3 separate regions of the Homo sapiens genome follow, and regions 2 and 3 are each linked to region 1. The links are contacts of gene promoters, found by promoter capture Hi-C in blood cells and fetal thymus (Javierre and others, 2016). All regions are on one chromosome and are shown on one strand. The core of a region is centred on a gene start or on the middle of the fragment in contact, and the rest is flanking DNA. Distances in the headings are between cores, read along the strand shown.

Region 1 (4,490 bases), core at 667-3,166:
GTTGATTTCCATTCACTCAATTTTTTTTTCCTTCTATATGTTTCCTATATGTATCCTAATTCCCCATTAGTCTGGGGCTCATTGGGGGCAGAGACATTTCTTCCTCTGCATTGCACAAAAAAAACCACAGAATGAACACACTCAATAAACCATACTAAATGTTTCCCCTCACAGTTAAAATGTATCCGTACCTAATTACTCCATCCTCAGAATTCTCGGATCTAAAAATGCAACCACAGTCTCACATCCGCTGATGTGAAATATTTACATTCTTCCTCAAATTTGTTTTGCTCTAAAATCTTGGAATCACTTTCTTAATTCCTTGCCCAATGGATACTGGATATTCATATGGAAAAAGTATTTCTCCATATTTCAAAGTCTAGTTCTTGGTAGCAGTTTATTACAAGTGCCCAGGCTTCATGATTCATTTCCATGGGTTAGAACCCAGGGGCCTAAGTCACTAGCTCCAAACCTGTTTTGAGATATTTCAATTTTATTTAAAAGGCCCAAGAATCAGGGCTTTGCAAACAGATGTTGTTAGCTGTAATTCCGCTGACTTGACTCTCCCTCCTGCCATTGCTCATTGGTGGCTGCAAGCCCAGCAAGGTCTTTGCAAGCCCTGCAACCTATATACCACCCAGGCTGGGGTTGGCATACCCGCTTATTGCTGTAGCTCCCCCGAGAAAGGGAAGGACCTGTCTAGGGGAGAAAGGTCAGAGTCCGGAGGAGTCTGTGGCAGCACACATTCTTACCGCATCGAACTCCGCTTGATCATCCTCAGGTAGGTCGCTAGTTTCATAAACATCTGGCTCATTCCTGGCCTGCAGGTAGAAGCAGTGACCACCCAACCTCACTACCCAGCATCCAACAACACCCCTTCCCCCACTCCATTTGAATAAGCTAACAGAGAAGGCGGGGTGTGATGTCAGGGTTCTGTCCTTTCTCCTCCACCTGCCCCGTGAGTCAACAGTATGTCAGTTCCCATGTCTCAAGGGGTAGGGATGACAGCGGAAACAATTGGGACCTGACAGTAAACGGTGAGTGTAAGTGATAGCAACGATGTTACCCTAAATCTAGAGGCGGGCAGGTCCTTGGCAATCACTATTGCCAAAGAAGGTGAAGGCTATCCTCCAATTAGGCCCCGTACACCACCACCCTGGCACAAGGATTGAGAGTGACTCAGGACCTTAGTACTCAAGGTCCTGTGTCCCAACCCTCACCTTGAGAAGCAGGCAGGGCAGCACAAAAGGAAGGTACACGCCAGGATTGTCATGGGAGTGGGGGCTGGGGGAGGGCATAGGTTCCCTCAAGGATAGAGCTCCCCATCTGGCACAAGAGGGTTCTGCCAGATGGCAGAACCTCTTCCTTGGCAGGATGAAGGCCATCGTTAAGTGGTCTGGTGTGTGTGTCTGGGGTAGCGATGGGGTCTTATGGAGAGATTTGGGGGGGACATGGGAGGCGTTGACACGGATGGTGGAAAAACTCAGGCACAAGAGGTCAGTACCCGGAGTCGATTTCTGGGCCGAGCTACCGGCGACTGCCGGAAAGGGGGCCTGGTGCGCCGTCCGGCGGCCCGGCCCAGTCGGGTCAGAAGAGTTCGGGGGGTGCTGAGGCCGATCGGAGAACGAGCGGCGGGAGCCCTTGGGCGGAGGATGGGCTGCAGGCGGGAGGGGTCGCGGGCTGGTTTCTGCTGGGGGTCCTTGGGAGGTCGGGGGCGCGGTCCTGGGGAGCCGGGGCCGGTCCTGTACTCACAATGCCGGGAAGGTCGGCGTATTTAGGGTCCGCCATGGCGGCGGCGAGACGGGCTGGGGGACCCGGGCCTCGGTGGAGCCGGGGCCGGTGTTCGGGTAGGGGAGAGGCTGGGTTCGGGTCCCGGGCTAAGGCGGCGGCAAAGGGAGCGGCAGATGAGCAGGAAGTCTCGCGACAGCAGTAGCACAGCAGAAGGGTAAAGCAAAAGTCGCGAGAACAGCCCTGCTGCCACACCCCTGGAGAGGCCGGGATTGGGGAGAACGAGGCCAGGGAATGAGGTAATGGCCAGGGGACGCCGCCTAGGATTGTGGGATGTGTAGTTTTGGTGTACTGGAGCTTGGGCGGGGAGCGACAATAACGAACCTTGGGGAGCTATTTCATACAGCCTTTTCTCTCACTTTTACAGCAAGTCAGTGAAAGAACATTTATAATTCCTGTTTGGGGCTCCCAGGAATAAAATGACTAGATTAAATGATACAGGTAGTCATACTGTGACACAGCCGGGGTTTCAAAAACAAGAAGTTTGCTTGATACTGTGTATTATAAAAACAAAATAAAAACAAGAAGTAAAATTTAGTAAACGCGTAGTGTATGTTAGGAATGAAAAAGTTAGGCAATCTTCTCAAGTAAGGGCTTTCAGATAATTTGAATTTCAGATAATAAGTAGGTGTGTGTGTGTGGTGTGTGGTGTGTGGGTATACTAACCCCCCAAAAATTAAGTATCTGAAATTCACATTTAACTGGGCATCCTGTTTTTGTTTTTTGTTTTTCAAATCTGGCAATTCTATCTGAAGTTCATAAGTAGGTAAGTGGTGTCTCCATGTCTGTCTGAACACTCTCTGGGCTCTTAACTACTTCGTTAATAGTTCTCAGACTTTTATTTATTTTTCAATTTTTTCAATTTTGTGGGTACACAGTAGGTGTATGTATTTATGGGACACATGAGATATTTTGATACAGGCATGCAATGTGAAATAAGCACATCATGGAGAAGAGGGTATCCATCCTCTCAAGCATTTATCCTTTAAGTTACAAATAATCCAATTACTCTTTAAGTTATTTTAAAATGTACAGTTGAGTTATTCTTGACTATAGTCACCCTATTGTGCCATCAAATAGTAGGTCTTATTATACTTTCTAATTTTTTGTACCTATTCACCAACCTTACCTTCCGTTCTCAGACTTTTAAATTTCATCGTTCAATAAAATTAAAACAACTACAAACCTTGAAGATTTGCCTTTTTATTTTATCAAGTAAGTATATTACAAATAGAAAACCTATTATTTACTGTCACCATCATTACTTGGTAGAAAAGCAAGAAGGACACACTCAGAATAAAAGATAGTCCTTTGAAACTTATCAAATCCATCTTTATATTAAAAAAAAACTCACCATTGTTCTTTTGGAGGTGAGGGCATACTCAGTGAACTTTTGTCTCTGACCAGTGACCCTCCATGGACTGGCATTTTGAAACCCCTTTACTAAAGATGCCACCTTGGAGCCCCTGGGGACCCAAGGATGGGATGTTTCCCAGGATGTTTCCTGAGCTTGCAGGATGCTGCAACACTTAGAAATTGTGCCAAACCAAGTGACTAGAGAGTTCCTGAGTTCGGAACTCGTTGTCTTTCTTTCTCCTGGCTCCTCCCCAAGCCTCTATCCCTTTCTCCATAGTCCTACAGCTTTCCTGTCCCATTCCTTATGTTGGACTCTTTTCTTTCAGTTCCCTTAAGATTCAAGGTAGGTTAGAGGTGTAGCCCCAATGTGGGAAACCCCCTGAGTTCTGAATAGTTAGGTCTTGTCTGGCCAGGCTATCAGCCTCTTACTTTTGTCCCATAGTGTCTTAAGTGACCTTAACCACTCACCAGACAGTTGCTGAGCAGAACTTTCCTTTCCTCCTCCTTCTCCCATCCACCCTGCCCTTCCTCTTTGCCTAGAACCTCAACTCCTGCAGTCCAACTCTCTGTTGGCCAGCAGAGGCCTGTGACATGGAGAAAAATCAATTTGGCCAGCTTCTTGGTGGTTCTTTCCAGGGGCTGCAGCAGGAGTCTGACCCAAAGGAAGGAAGGACAAGGAATCTCTGGGCTTGGCATTTCTTTCGTTTTTCTTCCCCCACACCTTTTTTTTTTTGGCCAGGGAAGGGGGCTGAAGTATTGGGACTCTATCCTCCAATGGTTACTGAGACAGAAAACACACACTCCCGTAGGTATCTGAATTTGCCTGAAACCCAAATGCCGGCTTTGCCTCAGACTTCAAAGTCTCTCTGGCCTTACCCATCCCCATCATTGCCCCTCCTTCACTGCTTTCTGACTCCCTTTCTCTTGCAAAGATGTTTCCCACCCATCTTCCTCCCATCCTCAGCCTAGGACACAAAAATAAGTATTGTATCTGCTTTTGAATTCCCATAACCCAGAATGGGAGTTTATCTTCCCTGAAACTGGGGACCTGGTGTGTACGTTGGGGAGACAGTATAGTGCACCTTTGGATGTGGAAGGGGAAGGGAGTAGCCAGAACCTCCCACGACACCCAACTTCATAGGAGTACAGGCAGGGGTCCCCCCAGAAAGCTGAGTGGGTTGGGAGTCCAGCTTCCGTGCATGTGGGGCATGGGATGGGCGTAGGGGGAGAATGAGAAGTGTGATCCCAGTTTGGAGAGAGGACTGTGACGGGTTGGGGGATGCCCTGGAATAAAGGGAGAGGGAGATCTGTTGACCCTTTTCGCTACACAGGCGACAGGCCCACCT
Region 2 (4,490 bases), core at 728-3,227, 100 kb after region 1:
GGCAGTCTAGTCCACAGGTAGTAATGAGGTTTGTTTTGGGAAAGAACTGCTATTTGTTTGAACTGCTATTAGTTTAGCTTTGTCTGAAAGCTAAACTATAAGCTAAGTTCCTCCCAAAGTCCAGGATGAGCAAGGGCAGTTTGGAGGTTAGAAGCAAGATGGAGTCAGTTAGGTTAAATCTTTTCACTGTCTCAGTTATAATTTTGCAATGGTGGTTCCATAACTTTAAACAATGACTATTGCAGTTTTCATAAATAATCTAGATAAAAAATTAGGCCAGGCATGGTGTCTCACACCTGTAATCCCAGCACTTTGGGAGGCCGAGACAGGTGGATCACTTGAGGTCAGCAATTTTAGACTAGCCTGGCCAACATGGCAAAACCCCACCTCTACTAAAAATACAAAAAAAAATTAGCCAGGTGTGGTGGCGCATGCCTGTAATTCCAGCTATTCAGGAGGCTGAGGCAGAAGAATTGCTTGAACCCAGGAGGCAGAGGTTGCAGTGAGCCAAGATCATGTCCCTACACTCCAACCTGGGTGACAGAGTGAGACACTGTCTCAAAAACAAACAAACAAAAAACAATTAAAATAAAATAATTAGGTAATTGTAATTGGATACATACTTATAGACAAACTTGTCATAATTTAGAATCTAAATTATATTAAATTACATAATAGATATTTCATTATTTGGGTATTTTCCAATAAAAATATATTTGTAAGAAAACATTCTTTTTAAAAAAGTGTGTCCTTTTAAAAAATGTGAACACTTTTCATCTAATTCAAAGCTTATTTAAAGGTCATGTGTAAAACAAGGTAAAAGGAACCATGAAATAAGAGAAATGTAAAATAAGTTATAAAAATGAAGAGTTTTTTTATTGGTAAGAAAGCTGAAAAAGAAATAATTTCATATGAGAAAGAATCTTGTATGGTAAATTTAGTCCTGGAGTAAAGTAAATAACTGGTTGTTTAAAAAAGAAGGGTGTTCAGGCCAAACCAGAAAGTCCAAGCATGTCGTGAATGGTCTAAGTCACACAGAGAGGATTTATTTTAAAAAACTTTTTTTTTTTTTTCTTTTTTGAGATGGAGTTTTGCTCTTGTTGCCTAGGCTGGAGTGCAATGGCACAATCGCAGCTCACTGCAACCTTTGCCTCCCGGTTCAAGCGATTCTCCTGTCTCAGCCTCCCGAGTAGCTGGGATTACAGGCATGCGCCACCATGCCCAGTTAATTTTGTATTTTTAGTAGAGATGGGGTTTCTCCATATTGGTCAGGCTGGTCTTGAACTGACCTCGGATGATCTGCCTGACTTTGCCTCCCAAAGTGTTGTGATTACAGGTGTGAGCCACTGCACCCAGCCTAAAAAAAAACTTTTACATGATCAAGTTATCATATTATTATTAAGTTTTGGTTTGCTGAGGGCAGGAGCCAAGATGGCTGAATAGGAACAGCTCCAGTCTACAGCTCCCAGCGTGACTGACGCAGAAGACGGGTGATTTCTGCATTTCCATCTGAGGTACTGGGTTCATCTCACTAGGGAGTGCCAGACAGTGGGTGCAGGCCAGTGGGTGCGCGAGCCAAAGCAGAGCGAGGCATTGCCTCACCTGGGAAGCGCAAGGGGTCAAGGAGTTCCCTTTCTGAGTCAAAGAAAGGGGTGACGGATGCACCTGGAAAATCGGGTCACTCCCACCCGAATATTGCGCTTTTCAGACCGGCTTAAAAAATGGCGCACCACGAGACTATATCCCACACCTGGCTCAGAGGGTCCTATGCCCACGGAATCTCGCTGATTGCTAGCACAGCAGTCTGAGATCAAACTGCAAGGCGGCAGCGAGGCTGGGGGAGGGGCGCCCGCCATTGCCCAGGCTTGCTTAGGTAAACAAAGCAGCCAGGAAGCTCGAACTGGGTGGAGCCCACCACAACTCAAGGAGGCCTGCCTGCCTCTGTAGGCTCCACCTCTGGGGGCAGGGCACAGACAAACAAAAAGACAGCAGTAACCTCTGCAGACTTAAATGTCCCTGTCTGACAGCTTTGAAGGGAGCAGTGGTTCTCCCAGCACGCAGCTGGAGATCTGAGAACCAGCAGACTGCCTTTTCAAGTGGGTCCCTGACCCTTGACACCCGAGCAGCCTAACTGGAAGGCACCCCCCAGCAGGGGCACACTGACACCTCACACGGCAGGGTATTCCAACAGACCTGCAGCTGAGGGTCCTGTCTGTTAGAAGGAAAACTAACAAACAGAAAGGACATCCACACCAAAAACCCATCTGTACATCACCATCATCAAAGACCAAAAGTAGATAAAACCACAAAGATGGGGAAAAAACAGAACAGAAAAACTGGAAGCTCTAAAAATCAGAGTGCCTCTCCTCCTCCAAAGGAACGCAGCTCCTCACCAGCAATGGAACAAACCTGGATGGAGAATGACTTTGACGAGCTGAGAGAAGAAGGCTTCAGACGATCAAATTACTCTGAGCTACGGGAGGACATTCAAACCAAAGGCAAAGAAGTTGAAAACTTTGAAAAAAATTTAGAAGAATGTATAACTAGAATAACCAATACAGAGAAGTGCTTAAAGGAGCTGATGGAGCTGAAAACCAAGGCTCGAGAACTACGTGAAGAATGCAGAAGCCTCAGGAGCCGATGCAATCAACTGGAAGAAAGGGTGTCAGCAATGGAAGATGAAATGAATGAAATGAAGCGAGAAGGGAAGTTTAGAGAAAAAAGAATAAAAAGAAATGAGGAAAGCCTCCAAGAAATATGGGACTATGTGAAAAGACCAAATCTACGTCTGATTGGTGTACCTGAAAGTGATGTGGAGAATGGAACCAAGTTGGAAAACACTCTGCAGGATATTATCCAGGAGAACTTCCCCAATCTAGCAAGGCAGGCCAACGTTCAGATTCAGGAAATACAGAGAACGCCACAAAGATACTCCTCGAGAAGAGCAACTCCAAGACACATAATTGTCAGATTCACCAAAGTTGAAATGAAGGAAAAGATGTTAAGGGCAGCCAGAGAGAAAGGTCAGGTTACCCTCAAAGGGAAGCCCATCAGACTAACAGCGGATCTCTTGGCAGAAACCCTACAAGCCAGAAGAGAGTGGGGGCCAATATTCAACATTCTTAAAGAAAAGAATTTTCAACCCAGAATTTCATATCCAGCCAAGCTAAGCTTCATAAGTGAAGGAGAAATAAAATACTTTACAGACAAGCAAATGCTGAGAGATTTTGTGACCACCAGACCTGCCCTAAAAGAGCTCCTGAAGGAAGCGCTAAACATGGAAAGGAACAACCAGTACCAGCCGCTGCAAAATCATGCCAAAATGTAAAGACCATCGAGACTAGGAAGAAACTGCATCAACTAATGAGCAAAATCACCAGCTAACATCATAATGACAGGATCAAATTCACACATAACAATATTAACTTTAAATGTAAATGGACTAAATGCTCCAATTAAAAGACACAGACTGGCAAACTGGATAAAGAGTCAAGACCCATCAGTGTACTGTATTCAGGAAACCCATCTCACGTGCAGAGACACACATAGGCTCAAAATAAAAGGATGGAGGAAGATCTACCAAGCAAATGGAAAACAAAAAAAGGCAGGGGTTGCAATCCTAGTCTCTGATAAAACAGACTTTCAACCAACAAAGATCAAAAGAGACAAAGAAGGCCATTACATAATGGTAAAGGGATCAATTCAACAAGAAGAGCTAACTATCCTAAATATATATGCACCCAATACAGGAGCACCCAGATTCATAAAGCAAGTCCTGAGTGACCTACAAAGAGACTTAGACTCCCACACAATAATAATGGGAGACTTTAACACCCCACTGTCAACATTAGACAGATCAACGAGACAGAAAGTCAACAAGGATACCCAGGAATTGAACTCAGCTCTGCACCAAGTGGACCTAATAGACATCTACAGAACTCTCCACCCCAAATCAACAGAATATACATTTTTTTCAGCACCACACCACACCTATTCCAAAATTGACCACATACTTGGAAGTAAAGCTCTCCTCAGCAAATGTAAAATAACAGAAATTATAACAAACTATCTCTCAGACCACAGTGCAATCAAACTAGAACTCAGGATTAAGAATCTCACTCAAAGCTGCTCAACTACATGGAAACTGAACAACCTGCTCCTGAATGACTACTGGGTACATAACGAAATGAAGGCAGAAATAAAGATGTTCTTTGAAACCAACGGGAACAAAGACACAACATACCAGAATCTCTGGGACACATTCAAAGCAGTGTGTAGAGGGAAATTTATAGCACTAAATGCCCACAAGAGAAAGCAGGAAAGATCCAAAATTGACACCCTAACATCACAATTAAATGAACAAGAAAAGCAAGAGCAAACACATTCAAAAGCTAGCAGAAGGCAAGAAATAACTAAAATCAGAGCAGAACTCAAGGAAATAGAGACACAAAAAACCCTTCAAAAAATCAATGAATCCAGGAGCTGGTTTT
Region 3 (4,490 bases), core at 1,733-4,232, 82 kb after region 1:
TAGAGTGCTCACAGGGTGGTGGGGTTTGTTGGAAATTCCTGGCAGGGACAAGGAGGCAGGCCCAGCCTGACAGTCAGAAATCCCCAGCGGGCCATCACTGGGAGGTCATGCACTGCAGCCGGTGTTTGAAGAAGAGCAGCCGGTGTTTGGCCATCTGGCTCTCGTCCAGTGATCCTGGGTAACGGTACCGGGCGTAAGTCTCTGCTCCGGCATCCCTTGATGTCCAAGGCAGCTTCAGTTTGGATGCATGATCCACCACGACGTCGGAGCAGGAGCCAACCCGAAGGGAACCAAGCCCATCCAAGAAGAATTCTGGGGGTGGAGGGGAGTACACAGTGAGGGATCCTGAGGGTGCAGAAGGCCGACTGGTAAGGGAGAACTCTCAAATTTAGGGTGTGGAAAGTGTGTGTGCAAAGGCTTGTTTCTAAGGACCCTGAGCATGTAAATCAACTCCCTGGGTCTCAGTCTTACTCTTGTGTAAATGGAGTCAATATACTTGTGCTTTGAAAATCGAAAAACCTACCCCTACTCCCAGAGGTTAAATAAACGCCAGATGGGTTGCACCGACTGTGGTCTGAACTAGGGGAAGCCCTGGGAGTAGAGCAGGGGTGGCGGGAACAGTGATGGGGAAGCTTATGGGGGCCCAGCGGCTGTGCTGGGAATGGAGATTCAACATGGCACATGTATACACATGTAACAAACCTGCACGTTGTGCACATGTACCCTAGAACTTAAAGTATAACAAAAAATATATATATTTATAAAAAAAAAAAAAGAGTATGCGGGGCTGGGAGAGGGTGGGAGCTGTCTCTCGCCCAGGTGCAGGTCTTGGTAAATCACTGCAGAACTGTTCTGGGGTTCCCGCTGGCGGCTGGGCGCGGGTGCAGCCTAGGAGGAGAGGCGCGTGACCGTGCGCCAGCTCCCCGTGGGGCTCCTGCCAGGGTCGACCGGGAGGGGGTGCCACTCACCCAGATGAGCCACGCGGCTGAGGCGGGGGTCGAAACCGACCTCGCGCACCTTGTCAGTCCGCGCCAGGAAGAAGTTAACCACGCCGTCGGTGACCACGCAGCCTGGGAAGCCGACGAGCTCGTGGTGGAAGCCGCGCCTTTGCCGGAGGCAGTTCCCGAGGCCTGGGGCGCCGGGCTCCACGCTCAGCAGCTGCCGATAAGTGGTGGCAAAGCCGGAGATCTCGCGCACCGCGCCCCCCACCTGCAGGGAGAGGGAGGTTGCCTCCAGGCGGGCCTGGGATAGGGGACCCGAAGGGGTCAAGGTCTGCGCTCCGGTGCCTTCGGGGGTACCCCTGCCCCATCCTCTTCCGCTTCACCCCTGCAGGACCCAGACAGTTCCCAGGCCCCACTTCGTGGTTCTCTCTTTGTCCTAGGGCTGGCCGTTCCTGGCCGCAGCGCCCCCGCTGTGGCCTTAGCCTGTTCAAGGCCCTTCTCCACCCCCACATCCTGCAGCCCCTGCCCTACCAGGTCCAGCGGCGTCCGCTCCAGCACGTCCACAAGCCTCTCCAGCCGCGTCCGCGCCGTGAAGACGAAGTCGTCGTCCACCCACAGCACGTACTTGGTGGTTACTTGAGACACGGCCAGGTTCCGGCCTGCGAACCAGCCCTGGCAGAAAGGTGTGTGTGGTTGGGGAGGCTGCAGAAATAGGACATGGCCCTCTGCCACCTTTCTTTCTCTCCCCCGACCCTTCTCAGCTTGTATTCTTCTCCAGACTTTTGAGTGCTTTCGAAAGGCCAGGAGCTAGGTAAAAGAAATGCAGATCCCCACAGAGGTTCCAAGTCAGTGGTCTTAGAATGCGTTTAATTTCCGTGTGCATTTATTTATTCATTCATCAGCTATTTTATTGAATGCCATTAGGCACTAAGCACCATTCTAAGAATTCAGAGAGAATTTCCTGCTCCCACGAAGCTTACATTCCAGGAATCCTCATGCTTAACAGGCACCCCATGATTCTGAGGCAGGTGGTCCTCGAATCACTACCCTGGAGGCTGCAGATTGAGGGCACACCCCCTGCGGGAGTCCTCTGGCCTGCCGTTCAGCCTGCTAGCTGCACACCTTGCCGAAGGGCATGAGATAGTGTTCCACGTAGGGGCCACTAACGCGCTCTGGCTTGTCGCTGTCGTCAGCGATGACCACGGTAACCGTTGGGTAGAAGCGGCGGATACTGGTGATGAGAGCCCGTAGCCGATCATAACGGAGGAAGGTCTTGGTGGCAATCGTGACTAGAGCGCTGATGTTGTACTGGGCTGAGATTGGGGGCACAGGGTTGGGTGCAGACAAGGAGGGTTGGGAGAGGGGAACAGGTAGATATCCCCTCCCAGGACTGCCCTCTCCCAACTTGCTCCCCACCAAGGCTGGTTCTAATATGTCCCTGCCCCTACCAGCCTCACCTCCCTGGGGTAGAGACCCAGGTGGGTACAGCCGAGGGTTGGGCGGGTGTCTTATGCGGATAGTGAAAGCAGCCTCATGTCCCTCGGTGGAGAACCGGACTGGGAAGAAAGGACATGGCATTTGACCCTGAAGGGTGGGATAACATTCTGTTTTCAGCCAATCAATATTTAAGTGCCTACTCTGTGTCCCACCTTTCTAGGCCTTGGTGGACAAGAACAGAAGGTTCTTACCTTTATGGAACTTACATTCTAATGGGTAGGAGAAAAAACAACAAAGAAAATTTTAAGTAAAAGCTAATCTTTATTGAGCACTTACTATGTGCCAGACCCGTTAAAAAATTACCTTAAATATATGCACTCATTTTATCCCCATGATAGCCCTATTAAGTAGATTCCTACAACAGAAAAAAAAGCTGAGACACAGAAAAGTAACTTGCCACATTTACACAACTATTAAGCAACAAAACTGATAGCAACCTAGTCAGTCTGGTGCCAGGCTAAGTAAATTAAAAAATTCAGATACTGGTAAGTATTGAGTGGAAAATAAGACAAACAAGTAATGTGATAGTGAAGAGGAGGCATTTGAACTGAGATCTAAATGACAAGAAGAAGCCAGTCTGCAAAAATCTGGGGAAGAGCATTCCAGGCTGAGAAAATAGAAAGTGCAAAGGCCCTAAGGTGGAAGCAAACTTAGTGCAACAAACCAGCTTTGGGGAGAAGCAAAGAGGGCTTTTAGGCCTCTTTTGCTGGAAGAGAAATGGGATCTCAGGAAAGTAAAGACCTTTGCCCTCTAGTAAGGGGTGGGTTGGGAATATAGTCTTCTAACTCCTTAGACAAGTCTCTTCCTGGGGCCCCCCACAGTTGGCCTAAAGGGGAGACACACCCAAGGCTCGGGTTTCCCTCTGGCCTGCTCCAGCCCCAGATGAACAAAGGCCCCCTTTCTCCCTCTGGCCCTGCTGGTCCAGTTGAAGCACCCATTGTGTGGCTGGACAGCTCTGGCCATAGCCCAGATGCCTCCCATGCCCTCTGCCATTTGCCCACTCCAGCCTTTCTGGTTCTTCTCTGTTTGCCCAGCCTGCCCGTCTCTCCACCCAGGCCTTGCACCTGTGTCTGCTGTGTTGGTCTGGTAGCTTCGGCTGCTGTAAGTGACCAGTTGTAGTTGCCTGTTGAGTTGGTCCAGCCCTGGGCTGACAAGGGTGAGATCTGCCTGACCCTCTCCAGTGAGAGTAACTCCAGTCACTTCCCCTGCCACGTCCCAGGTGCCTAGGGAGGCAGTCAGGTTCACCTAGGAGGGGATTGGAGAGTGCAGGGTTAGGCCCCAGACCCACTTCTTGCCTCCCTGATTCGCCCATCCTTCCCTTAGTAGCCCTGCCTCCCTCCCAGCATTCTTGATGCCTACTTGGCCTCCTTGCCTTCTTGTTTTCTCTCACCTGGTATACCTCCTGACCAGAAGCTGCCTGAAGGCTCAGCCCTAGGAGAAAGGAGTGGGGGGATCAGAATCACATAGGCAGCCCTGAATTCTTTCTCATTTTCTCTCCCTGCTGTCACCACACACAATAGAGAACTTTCCACCTATTCTTCTTATTGAGGCCTCAGCAGGGCACACTGTATAACATAGCCTACAGTGACTGATTTTTGAGCCCGTCCCGTCAAAGCTTGCCCTATGGCCTGCCCTGACCACCACCTAACCAATGGTTAGTCAGCAAAGAATAGATTATTTCCCCCAAAACTCCCCAGTTACAGTCTTCTGAAATTCCTAGAGTCCCTTCTGTCCTCACTTCCCACCTCCTAAGCCGCCGTTTGAGCTTAAGTCCCCCATTCATCAGAGGTTCCCACCTCCCATTCCAATCATCTCCCATTCTTCCCCACCCAACCTTGGGCTCTGCCACCCCCACTGTGGCTGAGGTCATCCTCTGGGACCCTCCTCCCTACCTGGCACCAAGATGCTCCTGAGGGGCTGAACTTCCACACCCTGTAGGGGGTACTGGAGCGGGGAGTTGGCAGGGGCTATGAGCAGCTGGTCAGCTGGGGACTGGCTCCTGGCAGTGGAGGAAGGAGAGGACAGAGCAGAGTCGGGGGGAGAGGGTCTCTC

The links. The method cuts DNA at HindIII sites, captures the fragments that hold promoters and counts their contacts. A CHiCAGO score of 5 or more calls a contact.
Region 2: a fragment that was not itself captured here is called in contact with the fragment with the promoter of DCTN2 in region 1 in 1 of 17 cell types (M2 macrophages); the score reaches 5.9 in M2 macrophages.
Region 3: a fragment that was not itself captured here is called in contact with the fragment with the promoter of DCTN2 in region 1 in 9 of 17 cell types (erythroblasts, M2 macrophages, M0 macrophages and 6 more); the score reaches 8.2 in erythroblasts.

The regions. Positions count from the first base shown.
Region 1 is chr12:57,545,276-57,549,765 of GRCh38, forward strand. DCTN2 (dynactin subunit 2) reads right to left here and starts at 1,917. Exons shown (of 14, transcript NM_001261413.2): 1 at 1,753-1,917; 2 at 753-821. The coding sequence starts at 1,788. RefSeq lists an enhancer at 2,046-2,185. The HindIII fragment of the contact is 9,827 bases long and covers 1-4,490 here.
Region 2 is chr12:57,645,063-57,649,552 of GRCh38, forward strand. No RefSeq gene overlaps it. Among named protein-coding and RNA genes, the nearest start is that of B4GALNT1, 14 kb to the left of the region's middle. The HindIII fragment of the contact is 2,383 bases long and covers 787-3,169 here.
Region 3 is chr12:57,626,650-57,631,139 of GRCh38, forward strand. It overlaps B4GALNT1 (beta-1,4-N-acetyl-galactosaminyltransferase 1), which reads right to left. Exons shown (of 11, transcript NM_001478.5): 4 at 4,331-4,437; 5 at 3,829-3,869; 6 at 3,503-3,683; 7 at 2,399-2,497; 8 at 2,064-2,254; 9 at 1,473-1,613; 10 at 969-1,209; 11 at 1-312. The coding sequence ends at 95. Among named protein-coding and RNA genes, the nearest start is that of B4GALNT1, 4.3 kb to the right of the region's middle. The HindIII fragment of the contact is 2,137 bases long and covers 1,915-4,051 here.